2 separate regions of the Homo sapiens genome follow, and region 2 is linked to region 1. The links are contacts of gene promoters, found by promoter capture Hi-C in blood cells and fetal thymus (Javierre and others, 2016). All regions are on one chromosome and are shown on one strand. The core of a region is centred on a gene start or on the middle of the fragment in contact, and the rest is flanking DNA. Distances in the headings are between cores, read along the strand shown. Region 1 holds the start of EDDM3A (epididymal protein 3A). Region 2 holds the start of RNASE3 (ribonuclease A family member 3).

Region 1 (6,563 bases), core at 2,267-4,766:
CCATCCTCCCACCTCAGCCTCCTCAGTAGCTGGGACTATAGGCACATGCCACCATGCCTGGCTAATTTTTGTTTTTCTTTTGTAGAGACAGGGTTTTGCCATGTTGCCCAGGCTGGTCTCAAACTCCTGAGCTCAAGCGATCCAACCATCTCAGCCTCTGGGCTTTCACACTGTCTTAAGATGGAAAGTTAAACACACTTTTTAGAGTTGGAGAGAATTGAAAAACAACTATAAATAGAACAAGTCATGTGGTGGGGGGACAAAAGTGTAACCAATTAATTTGTTGTAACTCTTGAACCAGTCTGGTATAGAAAATGTAATCCTTTCTCACTTCTTTCTCTTTTTCCTACATAAAAAAGAACTTAACTTTTAACTTTGGAGTACTGACCCCATTTCTCTGGAATCTGTGTGCCACAGAATGTCCATTCCCAGCCTTTCACTTTAGTAAACTCTTTTTTTTTTTTTTTTTTTGAGATGGAGACGGAGTCTTGCTCTGTCATCCAGGCTGGAGTGCAGTGGCGTGATCTCGGCTCACTGCAACTTCTGCCTCCCAGGTTCAGGAGATTCTCCTGCCTCAGCCTCCCATAGCTAGAACTACAGGTATGTGCCACCAAGCCTGGCAAATTTTTGTACTTTTAGTAGAGACAGGGCCTTACCATGTTGGCCAGGCTGGTCTCAAACTCCTGACCTCAGGTGACCCACCTGTTTCAGCCTCCCAAAGTGCTGAAATTATGGGCATGAGTCACAGTGCCCAGCCCACTCCTTAAAACTGGATTTTGACCCTTTTGATTATTTCAAATTGCTACCACGATGAGTGCTTACATCACTACTTGTCTCCAGTTTAGCACACAATCATTTATATCCACATGATATACATAAACATATCACATACATTAGACACAGACACATAAAGTGCACATTAAACCCCTTGCACAGCCATAGGCAAAAATAGCCTAGATCACCGATACCCATACCAATCACACGATACATACTCTGCACACATAACATATATAAGCGTCACATACGTTAGAATAATATATTTTATTTAAGAAAAGGAGGGTCGTTCAGCTTGGGTAGGTATAAAGAGAGTCAATATCAGGAAAGTCTTAGGTTAGTCGAGGACAGATGCCATATGAGCTGAATCTTGGAAAAAATGTGGGTGTAAATTAGGCAAATTAGGACAAAATTGTATTACAGATACAGAAACCACACAAAGATTTGGTATCAAGAAATCACGAGGTACATAAACTCTAAGTAGTTGGAAAACACTGACACATAAATGTAAGCGGGGAGTGGCAGGGGCTATTGATGGAGGCAGGGCCCACCACTTTGGAAGCACTGAATACTCTACCAATATCTGAGGATGTGCATAGACTTTCTAGTTGCTGATAGGTTCTATAATCCTCAGGTCTTCTATGTTATCAACATATCCATCTACGCCACAATGGAATTCAATGTAGCTGAAGCTTCTGCTCTCTGTGTACCTATTGTTGTACTTCTCCCAGTGACACTCGAGTACTTTGAGGGCACCTGGGGCCCATACATATGCATTTCTATATCGGTCGCTCCCCTTCTCATTGATGCATGCACGCTGAATTTTGAACCATAAGCTATAGATGAACATATGAAAGCTCTTGCCTTTCAGAGCCTCTTTTTCTCTCATGAGGACATCACATTTGTACTCTTTGAATTCTCGACTTGGACTTAAGTAATGAAGTTTTATGAATTCTCTCCAGTAAATGTTGTTACTGTATACACACAGCCTGCAAAGGATGCAAAGCAGGGCCAAGAGTATGCCCCAAATCTTTAGAGAGGATGTCATCTCAGTCACCACGTCCACCTGCGTGTCTACAGGGAAGAGAAAGAAAAGCATTAACCAGACTATACTCAGAGAGCTGAGCTCCACCTTAAAATTCCTTTCCCTGCCAAGCAGGTACTTGGGCACTATATTGCTATTTGGTTCCATATTAGAAGATGATGATTCTCATTAAAGAATACAGTTTCTGGGCTGGGCACAGTGGCTTATACCCGTAATCCCAGCAGTTTGGGAGGCCAAGGTGGGTGTATCACCTGAGGTCAGGAGTTCGAGAAACACCGTGGCCAACATGGTGAAACCCCATCTCTACTAAAATACAAAAAGTAGCTGGACATGGTGGCTGTAGACCCAGCTACTCGAGAGGCTGAGGCAGGAGAATCGCTTGAACCTGGGAGGCGGAGGTTGCGGTGAGCCGACATCACACCTCTGCACTCCGGCCTGGGTGACAAAAGCAAAACTCCGTCTCAAAAAAAAAAAAAAAAAAGAATACAGTTTCTAAGAACTAAAAATATGCTTTAGCCTGTGAGAGCTAACACAAATTTGGAAAATATAGATAAAGTACCTTTTGAGAATTTCAAATATCTCCTGTCTACCCTGTCTTCTACCCAATTTGAGGAGCCAATCACTATCGAGCTCTCTTTTACCAAATAAGCTCTCAGGAGATCATGTGTCCAATAGAAAAATGACATTTTAAGCGTATTGTCTGCAAAGTGGAAAAGATTGTTGCATTTTAAGGGAATGTAGAAGATGAGTAACTACTTGGGAGGTGGTTCCTAGGCAGAAGGCATTGATTCTGGAAACCACAGCCCAGGCTGCAATTGCACTTCTCTGAAAAATGATGTTTTTCCAACCTTGACTTCCTTATAACACTTTCCCCAAAGTCTGGGTGAAACATGTGATCATTATTAACTATCGGCATCCCTTCTCAGAGGCCATTTCCCTAATTACTGCTATTACAAATGATCTTCATTTGTTAGAGCTTATTGACAATGCCATCATAAAAGGACATCAGTTTAGAACTGTTGCTGTAATCAATCAGGCACCAAAACTAAAACAGTCCCCCGCAGAGCTACTGTGGTCACAGCATAGGATGTATGGTCGTTTGAAAAAGTTATCTCTTTACCAGCTATCTGTCCTCATTTGCCATGAGGAGTATTCCTGGCCCTACTGAACCTCTAGCCTGATTCATAGCTCTGAGTATCGGTGTCCTCAGATAGGCCTAATCACAGCTCCCTACAGACCTGCAAGAGTCTAATGAGATGCAAGCATGTGAGAGCACTTCTAAAGATGTCAAATGCCCACATCAGGCACAGGGTTCCTCATCTGTGGAACCCTGTCCTGGTGATAAAGGCCTACACAAGATAGAAGAGTAGGATGCAAGCAGCTTTAATGCACTGTGCTTAGGAGGACTGGCGGTGAAGGAAGGGAGGGGCAGGGAAAAGCCTGTATCAGTGGGACTGAGGCTAACCAGAATTCAGACCTTTGTTTTCCATGATTTGGATCCTTCTCCATTGTTTGCTATCTAAAAGTTCAATCAGCCTCCTTCCAGTGTTCCTGGCTGTCCCCCGAGCAACCTCAGCAGAGCCCTTCTTACCCTACTTGGACTCTGAGTTCAGGTCACTGATTGTAGTGGGGATCAGCATGTGGATCTGAAGAGCAGAGTCTGCGTCCTCCTCCTTTTCTCAGAGCCCTGGAAATCTACAGCAGTGGAGAAAGGAATAGTAGGGGGAGCTGCAGGGCTCCAGCTGATTGGTAGCCGAGGTGGTGATGGGGAACAGCCTTATTATGTGAACTTGTCCCTGTATCGTTTCATCTGGAACACTTGGGCTCACTCAAACAGTAGCCTCGAGCAAAGGCTACAAACATCAAAGGCTGAGCCCTGGGTACAAAATGATTGCAAGACCCTAGGTGACCCCAGAAAAGGGTTATCTGGTGCTATCAGGAGACAACCAGAGACTTAGCTCTGCTCTCAATTCTAACAAACTTCTGGGGAAGTCCCTGGAGGGTTATGCTATGTTACATGGGAACTTCACTGAGGAAAGCCACCTTTTTTTTTTTTTTGAGATGGAGTCTCGCTCTGTTGCCCAGGCTGGAGTGCAGTGGCGAGATCTCGGCTCACTGCAAGCTCCGCCTCCCGGGTTCACCCCATTCTCTTGCCTCAACCTCCTGAGTAGCTGGGACTATAGGCGCCTGTCACCACGCCCAGCTAATTTTTTGTATTTTTAGTAGAGACGGGGTTTCACCGTGTTAGCCAGGATGGTCTCGATCTCCTGACCTCATGATCTGCCTGCCTCAGCCTCCCAAAGTGCTGGGATTACAGGTGTGACTCGCTGTGCCTGGTCTTTTGCCTTTTTTTTTTTTTTGACAGGGTCTTGCTCTGTCGCCCAGGCTGGAGTGCAGTCGCACAAACACTGCTCCCTGCAGTCTCAACCTGCCAGGCTCAAGCAATCCTCCCACCTCAGCCTCTTGAGTAGCTGGGACTATAGGCATGCAACACCATGCCTGGCTAGTTTTTTGTATTAATTTTTGTAGAGACAGGGTTTCACCATGTTGGCCAGGTTGGTCTTGAACTCCTGAGCCTAGCTAAGCCTCAACACATCAGCCTCTAAAAGTGCTGGGATTACAGGCATGAGCCACTTGGTCAGGCCAGAAAATCACTTTTAATGTTGTGAATTGTGAGACCTTCATTGAGAGGTGAAAGAATATCTAGTGAACACAGTGGCCAAATAGCTATGAATGATTAGGTAGCCAGTATCTGAAATTTCTCTACTCAGTTTTTTAATTATAACCTTTAGCTGTTTGGTGACACTGTACTGCTTACTATTAAAATGTCACATAGCCTGGCCATAGTTTCTACAATGCTACTATACGTAACATCTGACTGTGAAGTATAGGTCACAAGGTGCTGGCTAAGTTGTTTTTCAGGACCTCAAGATTCAGTCCTGAACTCAGCTCAAACTGACAAGACCACAACTTCTTCAACTGAGTTTGTGCAAGTGTTCAATGGTTACCTTTAACATCACAGCCGGAATTTTCCACCATATTTTCCATGCCAACTCCCCACAAATTGGCAAATGTGACCAATACTGGTTCATCAACACTAGTCAAAGTTACGATTTATGAATAAAGTAAGACTCTTGCAAATCTTTTCTAACAACACTTCCAAAGGCTGCTCCTAGCCAAACCACCTTAGTTGATTTTCTCACTGGGCCACCTTATTGTTGGAATGACAGAAGGTTCAGTTTATATCCAGAACTTATCTTCAAACCCCCACTCCTGTGAAGCAGTCCTTGAGTAATAGAAAATCATGTGCTGATAGACTGGATGGACGGGAGATAGTCTTAGAGCAGGTTCTGTGCATCCTTCTACTCTCTAGGTCTTTGGGGGACAGGGGAGAGCAAAACAGGAACAATTCTGGGCCTCTGAATTTGGATGATTTGAGAGGCGATTCTGAGGGAAAATCAGTTTTTTGTCATGTGCCCACACATCCAGAGCTCTTTCCAACAAATGTGCATTGTCTATTGAAGACAAATTCAAGTAGTGACTCAATGAATGTAGAGAGGTGGGAGAGAGAAGCCACCTGAGCCAATGTATGAGCCAGTGTTTCTCAAATACTTGATATTCCACTTTTAATATGGAAAAAAAATCATGGACTCCAAGCATACATCCATGAACTCTCCTATGAGCTAAGCCCAAAGTCCTAAAGCTTTTTGGATATAAACCCAATTAGGAGGCCATCTAAACTAAACTGGGGAAAAGCATATTGTTATATTTACAGAAATTAGCCACTATGAATGCAGCCCAGGAAGGTAACCCAACCAGTATTTCTGGAAACTACGTAATGGGTCTACTTCCTAGGGTTGTCTACCAGCTTGTGTAACAGAAGCTCCTTGGGCAGTGACTTTTGATTTCGGTTTTTAAGGAGGTATTCCCCTTTAAATATAAATTTTAAATCACTTGAAAATTATGTTCATCCTTTATTGTCTTTGATTTTAATTATTTTCTGTTAATTCCTTGATATGTCCTTTTATTATTATTATTATTATTTTTGGAATGGAGTTTCACTCTTGTCGTCCAGGCATGATCTCAGCTCACTGGAACCTCTGCCTCCTGGGTTCAAGTGATTCTCTTGCCTCAGCCTTCTGCGTAGCTGGGAGTACAGGTGCGCACCAACACATCCGGGTAATTTTTGTATTTTTAGTAGAAACAGGGTTTTGCCATGTTGGCCAGACTGATCTCAAACTCCTGACCTCAGGTGATCCACCCGCCTTGGCCTCTCAAAGTGCTGGGATTAAAAGCGTGAGCCACCGCACCAAGCCAATATTTCTTTTGTTAGCCACTATTCAATTCTTAAATGTTTGTGAACTACTGTTTCACAAAACCATAAAAGTGACTTAGGTTCCTCATTCAGGGGATGACAACGTCTATAGGTGTCTTAATCTGTGATCCACGGACTTCCAAGGGCTCCATGGATGGAATTCATAGGATCAATGCAGTAGTGCAGTGCAGAAAATTACATCTCTATTTTCACTCACCCATATTGAAATGTAGGGGCTGGGCATAGTGGCTCACACCTGTAATCCCAACACTTGAGAAGGTCAAAGTGGGAGGATCACTTGAGCTCACGAGTTTGAGACCAGCCTGGGCAACACAGGGAGAAACCCTATCTCTACAGAAAATTAAAACAATTAGTTGGGTGTGGTGGCACATGCCTGTAGTCCCAGCTACTTAGGAGGCTGAGGTGGGA
Region 2 (6,977 bases), core at 2,712-5,211, 150 kb before region 1:
GACCCTCCCTGCCGGCTTACAGAACAATTAACGGCATTTACTCCTGCAAGACTTCCTGAAGATTTGATATTAAGAGAATTTTATAAAATCAGACATGGGAGGTTCAAGGAAAAGAAGTGGACTCCAAGGATCACGTCTTTGGAACATGCGGATGTGACCACTTAACTTCTCTAATGGTAGTCTCTGTGGTGCTGGCCTTGGGTCCAGGGCAATCAGAAAATCTTGGATGTCTACTGCAGAAGGGGCAGTGAGTCCAGCCAGGGTTTCCTGATGGTCAAGCACAGAATCCTCCTTGGTCTTGTTTGAATCGTCTCACGTCCTGGGAGAGGGGAGCTGCCTCTGACCTCAGCCCAGTCATCAGCATGGGGATGGCAGGAAGATGATGTGGAAGGCATGGAGGGGCTGGAGAGAGGCCATGGCAACAGGGAGGGGAATAGCATGGGGCTGCACCATGAGAGGATGATGGTGAGATTCACTGAGATTGGAAGACTCTTGTTTCCCTCTCCCTCAACTTGTGGTCCTTCATTGGGGCCTTGCTTCCACTCTTGTCTCCCAAATAGTTGTGTTTTGCACAGCAGCTGGACAGATCTTTAGGCAATGTTATTCTTGCATGTAACATGCTCGATTTGTGCCCCATGAGGAACTTACTTTATTCTTCCATCTTCACAGGCATGAAGGGTCTGAACCTCATTAACTCCTATCATTAACACTCATGGCTATGATGATCTTGTCCTGACCAAACAACTTTTGTGCTTCTAACACGCCAAACCTCTATCCATTCAGGACCATTTTTTAAAACTGAAAATGTTTTATTACATTAAGGAATAAATACATACAAAGATGCGAATAATGGTAGTCATTCTCCTTCAGATGTTTTAATCAACTTATCGTAAACACAGAACGAAAAGTCTTCTTACAGCCTTGGTATTTGTCAGGACTTTTGAACTCTCTTTCTCTTTGCTGGGATGATTCTCCATCTGGTGTCTGCATGACTGGCTGCTTTTCCTCCTGTTCAGATTTCATTCTCTGAGATAAGTCTTTCCTGGTGACACTCTGCCCTGTCACTTTTGTGGCACATACAGAACCTCTATATTGTGCTGCTCTGTGTAATTTTCTGTGTACTATGCTGTGTATTTTTCCTCCTGACACTTAGCAAAATTTTGTATGCTTAGAACAATTTTGTATGTTTATTTTTATCCTTGTATAATGTGGCCTCAAAAGAGCAGGGACCTGTCTTGGTTTGTGTTGCATCATCACTCCCTCAAACTGTGCCTGGAGCAAGGTATCTGCTCAGTAGATGACTGCTGGATGAATGAATGAACGAAGGAATGAATGACGAGAGAGGATGAAGTCACAAGGTGGAGAGGGTGTGGGGGCAGGTGGGGACTGATCCCTCTATCCTGTGGTTTTAGAGATGAGGCATCCCCGACTGAGAAGAGACCTGTGATCTGGTACCTGAAGCAAGGAAGGTCCACTCCATCTTTCTTCACAGGAAACGTGGCTCCAGCTTTCAGAGTCCCACCTTCTCCTTCTGCTACTCTGAGGTTATGGGAAGACTGCACTCACTTCCTGACATGCCCTGTTTTACCTAGAGTCAGTGGATTCTGTTGAGCACTGAGATTTCCCAAACTCAGTGTCTCTGTGCAAACTTTTAAGTTCACAGCCCGACCTTGGAGAAGCAAGATCTCAATAGCTTCTCCAGAGGAGAGACTTCAATACAGCTGCTGTCTGATGCCAATTAAAGCACCATTACTGACATGGAGTCATCTGAGGAATGGAAATTGCTGTTTCTCAGGGTCTGGAAGAGGAGGAGAAATATAGAAGTCAGAAATCTCAGACTGAAGGACCAAGGTGCAGATCTGATGGCATCGTACCTCTCTTGCATTCTGAGTCGGGCCATTCAAAAAGACCCACTCTGTTCCTGGAACAATCACTTGAATGCTGCACCTGTCCACAACTTGCAGGAAGGGGCTTCCCCTTTTTCTCCCCTGTTTCTCATGGATTCCTGAGTGAAGCCCTGTGTTGGAGTCCAGGGCAGCGGCTCTCATCATCCATTTCTTCTCTCTCTGGGTCTACAAATCCTGAATTCTCGAGGCTGTGCCCTTCCTGACAGGTGTTGAATGAACCTTTGACTCGCCATTGGGAACATCTATGGAGGGCAGAATGGGCAGGAGCCAACTCACCTTCATGAGTGCTCCCACTTCCTCCTCCTCCTCCTCCCCCTTCTCCTTCCCACGTGACCAGCGGCTCCCCATCTCCAGGACATGGAACTTTTGGGAAAGATGTCCACCTCTCCTCCAGTCAGCATTACAATCTGTCCTTACTGCTGTCGGAACAATTTATCTTATTGCACATTTGACTCAAACCCTGGTTCCACCTCTATTACGATTGCTAATAGCTGGAGACTTGATGTGCCCATTTAAAAGAAATATCCCTGAGGCTAAACTTTTCTTTATCTTGGTTTCACCTTATTTATAGCATTCTTGACTTTTTCTACTTTCTTCTTTTCTATTTTCTATCATAACGTTCAATTCTATCAAAATTTATCATTCATAAATCATAATGAAGCACGTGCATTTTCAGCTGATTCACTGCAGCTCTTTTTTTCTTGGGATAGAAATCATGTCAATAAAAACCATAGTCGGACCATAAAGCATCAAATGGGACCTCAATATCAAATTGGGCTCAATTCTGGAATACAACTAAAACAAGTGGAGATCTATACACAAGTTATAGGTTGGTGTTGGGGGAGGAGTCAGTGGATGGAAAATTGCTTAGAGGAGATATTAAGGCTAGGGAGACCAATGCTAAGTTGACTCAATTGGATTTTTTTTTAAGGCAGGCCTGGAATCAGGTATCACATGAAGGATGATGGGGGAATTAAGGAATTTGGTCAGATATTGAGGGGGAGAGATTCATGATAAACCCAAATCTCTAGAGCAGATTGTCACTAAATGACAGCAGAGCGGCCGAGGAAGACACACAGACACTTCCAGATGAATTTGCAAAGCAGTTTATTGCAGGGTTCACAAGGGACTTCAGCTCAGGAAAGCTGAAGGGGTATGGAGACTGATGAGGACAGTTGCTGATACCCAGAGTACATGGAGGGATGGGATCTTGGCTATGATTGAGGAGCTTGGCAGATGAGTGATGATGAGGACTGCTGATACAGGAGCTTAGATGGTGGTATCCAGGTGAACTGGAACCACAGGATACCGTGGAGAATCCCGTGGATCTCTGTTGTCACATGCAACTACATAGAACCTCCTTCCTGGTCTGTCTGCATACGTGCAGTTTGAAATATTCTGTGCACCTGGATTTATGAGGTCACAGTGGAGTAAAGGCACCCGGAATCTACTCCGATGACAATTGTTGAGAGTTCTGTTATGAGGGCAGCGTATACTTTGGTTACCACAAACATTAACTACATTAGCAAAAGTTGTACGAAGAAAAGTATTTTGGTTTTTGCAACGCCATCGATAATTGTTAATTGCCCGCATTGCAATGGTGCATCGAGGGGGGTTCAGACTGATGTGCTGGATGGCAAACCACTGAGCCCTCGTAAACTGTGGGGGTCTGGCATGGAGTGAGCCCTCCACACCCATAAGCCCCAACAGAAGAAGCAGACAAATTTGGGAAGTGAACAGTTTTGGAACCATGTTTCCTGTAAGAAAAGAAGAGAAGTAACTACTCCCCGATCCGGTCTCGGTTATGACACACTCTATAGTGTCTCAACCCACAGGCCCCTCTGCTGCCACTCTGGGGTCGCATTTCCTTTTCTTCCTGTCCCCAAAGTGTGCCACATCTCCTAAGCACTAACTTCAGCTCACCTCTCCCTCAGGTGCTGCCCTGTCGCTGCCCCTCCTGTCCCAGCTCTGGGGATTGTTGACTTACCCAGTCTCTGAGCTGTGGCTCCTGTGAGAACTGATCCAGCTGGTTGTTCTGGGGTTCAGGGGCAGCTGGTCTCCCCTACTTGGAACTGTTTAAATAAAGCTTCCCTTGGTGGGTCTGGCCATGCAGAAACCCACAGATTGACACATGGTCCACTTGTGCAATCATCCTTTTTATTTGATGACTTGGCTGAGCAACGGATACCCAAGGACAGCCCTGCTGCTCTTTCTGCTATACGGACTCTAATTCCAAGTCATCCTGTGTTAGACAGAGTTTTGCCGGTGGGATCTGGACTCTGGGTGAAAACTATACGCTGCCGGCAGAATGACCACAGATTTTATAACTGTCCTCTGGCAGGCCCCTAAATGACTAAATGACACGAAGGCAGGCATAGTAGTTAGGAGAAATAGAGCCACAGAGGGCTGTTTGCCCAGGAGAAACCCAGCTTCCCTTCCATTTTTAGTAATATCCTTGGTTCTCTCTCACATAAATGCTCTCCATCTCATCCACCACTCTTGCTGGAAACTTGAGCTATTAATTTCTTGGGGCACAAGATTCTGTAGATAATTAAAACAATCTGCTCCATACAATTGAGGAATTTTTTTCTTTACTCCTCTTGCATTGGATCCACTTTCTCTTAAGTCTTGCCCTGATTATTGATTCCACTTTGTGTAAAGTTACATAACCTAAAAACACACCGAGGACAGTTGTAAAATCTGGCAGAGGATGAATGAACATTTGGTGTCATGAAAGATTCCAACCTAGCACTCGGTATTCCTGTGATCTTTTCAGCCTATGGTATTTTCTACAAAACAGTGTGTTCTGGGGTTGTCATTCATCTTCCTGGTAAGTTTCATTTTGTGATATTAACAAGAATATGGTTCTGTATTTACAAATGAACATTTAAGGACAGAGCACTGTATTCCTGAAAGTATAGAGGTCAAGTGTACAGTTTGATACACAAAGCATACATTTATTCTTGGCCCTCAGAGAAACACAGGAAAGTACTTGTAGACATATAATTGTATTACAGTGTGATAGAGGTAATAGCATTTGTGTGAACATGGTGTCATAGGGACACTGCTGGTGAAGGAAATCACTTGGCTTGAGAAATAAGGAAAACTTCAAAAAAAAGTTTATTTCAGCAGGTCCTAAAGGATAAGCAGGGGATTTTCAGGGGATTTAGAGAAGAGATGAGCATTCTGGGCACAGGGGATGATGTGGGGAAATTGTACAGAGGTGAGAAGTGAATTGCAAAGGTAAGGCCTGGGTACTAACAGATGTTAAATCTGGTCTAGCTTTGAGATTAGAAAATGGAAAGTAGACCCTTAAATGATATAATATACCTTCCAACAGTTAATCTGCCTAATTTTTACTACCGTCCAATTTTCCTGTCATTTAGAAATGCAATAATTTTATCACTGGGGTCCTTAGGTAAATGTGGACACAATGGTGACCTGGTGAGGACTCAATGCGCAGCTAATATTGCTCTGCCTTGAAGTCCTGTTCTGGCCGACATTCATTAGCAGCTTTATCATGAGGCAAGTTTATTTTTTCATGTATATTGTGTGGAGATCATTTTTGTAGGTGATGAGAATGTAAAGGTGAATGATACGTAGAGTATCCCCTCTGTGATGCTGACAGCCACACTGGCTAGAAACATTTGCACTTAAGTGTCTATAGTATGAGGCAAAAGACATAGACTGCAGCCCCAGGGCAGGTACTTGGCTAAACAGTGCTTCTTTTCAGCATACACAGTGCTATTTATGATGTTTGGTTTGGAAGATAAAGTTTGACATTGGAATAGTTCACTAAAAGTTTTCATTACTGTCTTATCTTTAAAAATCACATGATGGTGGTTGGTGCACCATTGGTGTTGTATCAATTAGAGCTGAGTAACAGCTGCGTCTGTGGAAGGGGCTCTAGCTCAGGGCTGTTCTCTGACTCCACTCTCCCTCCTGACTTTTATCCTATCTGTTCAGTGATGACACCTGCCTGGCTCCTGAAGACATCTGTGCTTATGACATATCAGACTTATTGAAGTGTCTTAAGCAGACCATAACCTGCCCAATTTGCAACCATATTCATCCTTTAAAATTGTGGAGTTTTTTGTTTTTTGTTTTTTTTTGAGACGGAGTCTTGCTCTTGTCACCCAGGCTGGACTGCAGTGGCGTGATCTCACTGCAACCTCCACCTCCGCCTCCCAAGTTCAAGTGATTCTCCTGCCTCAGCCTCCTGAGTAGCTGGGATTACAGGCGCTCGACACAATGCCCGCCTAATTTTTGTATTTTTAGTAGAGACGGGGTTTCACCATGTTGGCCAGGCTGGTCTCAAACTCCTGACCTCAGGTAATGCGCCCACCTCGGCCTTCCAAAGTGATGGGATTACAAGTATGAGCCACTGCTCCCAGCCATAAAAATTGCATTCAGAACATGCTCATAAGGTTTTTCTGATTGTCCCTTGTGTAGATTTCCTGCGTACATTTCCAACTACCTTCATTTGCCAGCAGAAGTAGTACAAATGATCTACTTTGATATTTATGACCTTTGAGAGAAGATGTTTTATATGAAGCAGGAATAAAGTATAAGTCAACATTAAAGAAAATTATCTGTTATGATCTCTGTAATCGAAACAAAATTCTCTGTAACTTCAGCATGATTTTGTCTTGAACAGACACAAGGCACTTCACCCGGGCTCTTTATTTTATTAGCATAACTTGTCTTGCAGCCTAATTTAACGACACATTTTCAGACCTGATCCACACTTCCAATGAGAGGAATAGTCAGAATTACGCCCTAGTGTTAAGTCATTTTTTGGAAACCGATGAACATTGTAAAATATTATCCCAGACAAAGACTTCTGCATTTGTGGTAAAAACCACTGTTGAGTACACTGCATTGATCAATGTCTTTTTTGCATAGCATTTATGTGCAAAAATATAATGTTCAATGCTTGCAATTTCTTCAGCCCCAGGGTACCCTTGCAATATTTGCTCTTAACCTGCTGACAGGGAGGTACCAAACCATCGATACCTTCCTGCACACAGATTTCCCTAATGCAGCAGTGGCTATCTATGGGAAAGACAA

What was found. Contacts are between HindIII fragments. The CHiCAGO score rates a contact against its expected background, and 5 or more counts as called.
Region 2: the fragment with the promoter of RNASE3 here is called in contact with the fragment with the promoter of EDDM3A in region 1 in 9 of 17 cell types (fetal thymus, total B cells, endothelial precursors and 6 more); the score reaches 10.2 in fetal thymus.

Annotation. Positions count from the first base shown.
Region 1 is chr14:20,742,840-20,749,402 of GRCh38, reverse strand. It overlaps EDDM3A (epididymal protein 3A), which reads right to left and starts at 3,516. Exons shown (of 2, transcript NM_006683.5): 1 at 3,411-3,516; 2 at 1,023-1,848. The coding sequence starts at 1,822. The coding sequence ends at 1,379. The region is part of intron 2 of LOC107984671 (a long non-coding RNA gene); the gene reads left to right. The HindIII fragment of the contact is 4,056 bases long and covers 1,469-5,524 here.
Region 2 is chr14:20,888,369-20,895,345 of GRCh38, reverse strand. RNASE3 (ribonuclease A family member 3) reads right to left here and starts at 3,961. Exons shown (of 2, transcript NM_002935.3): 1 at 3,895-3,961; 2 at 2,998-3,664. The coding sequence starts at 3,659. The coding sequence ends at 3,177. All of the region lies in intron 1 of LOC100507513 (a long non-coding RNA gene), which reads left to right. The HindIII fragment of the contact is 4,045 bases long and covers 1-3,995 here.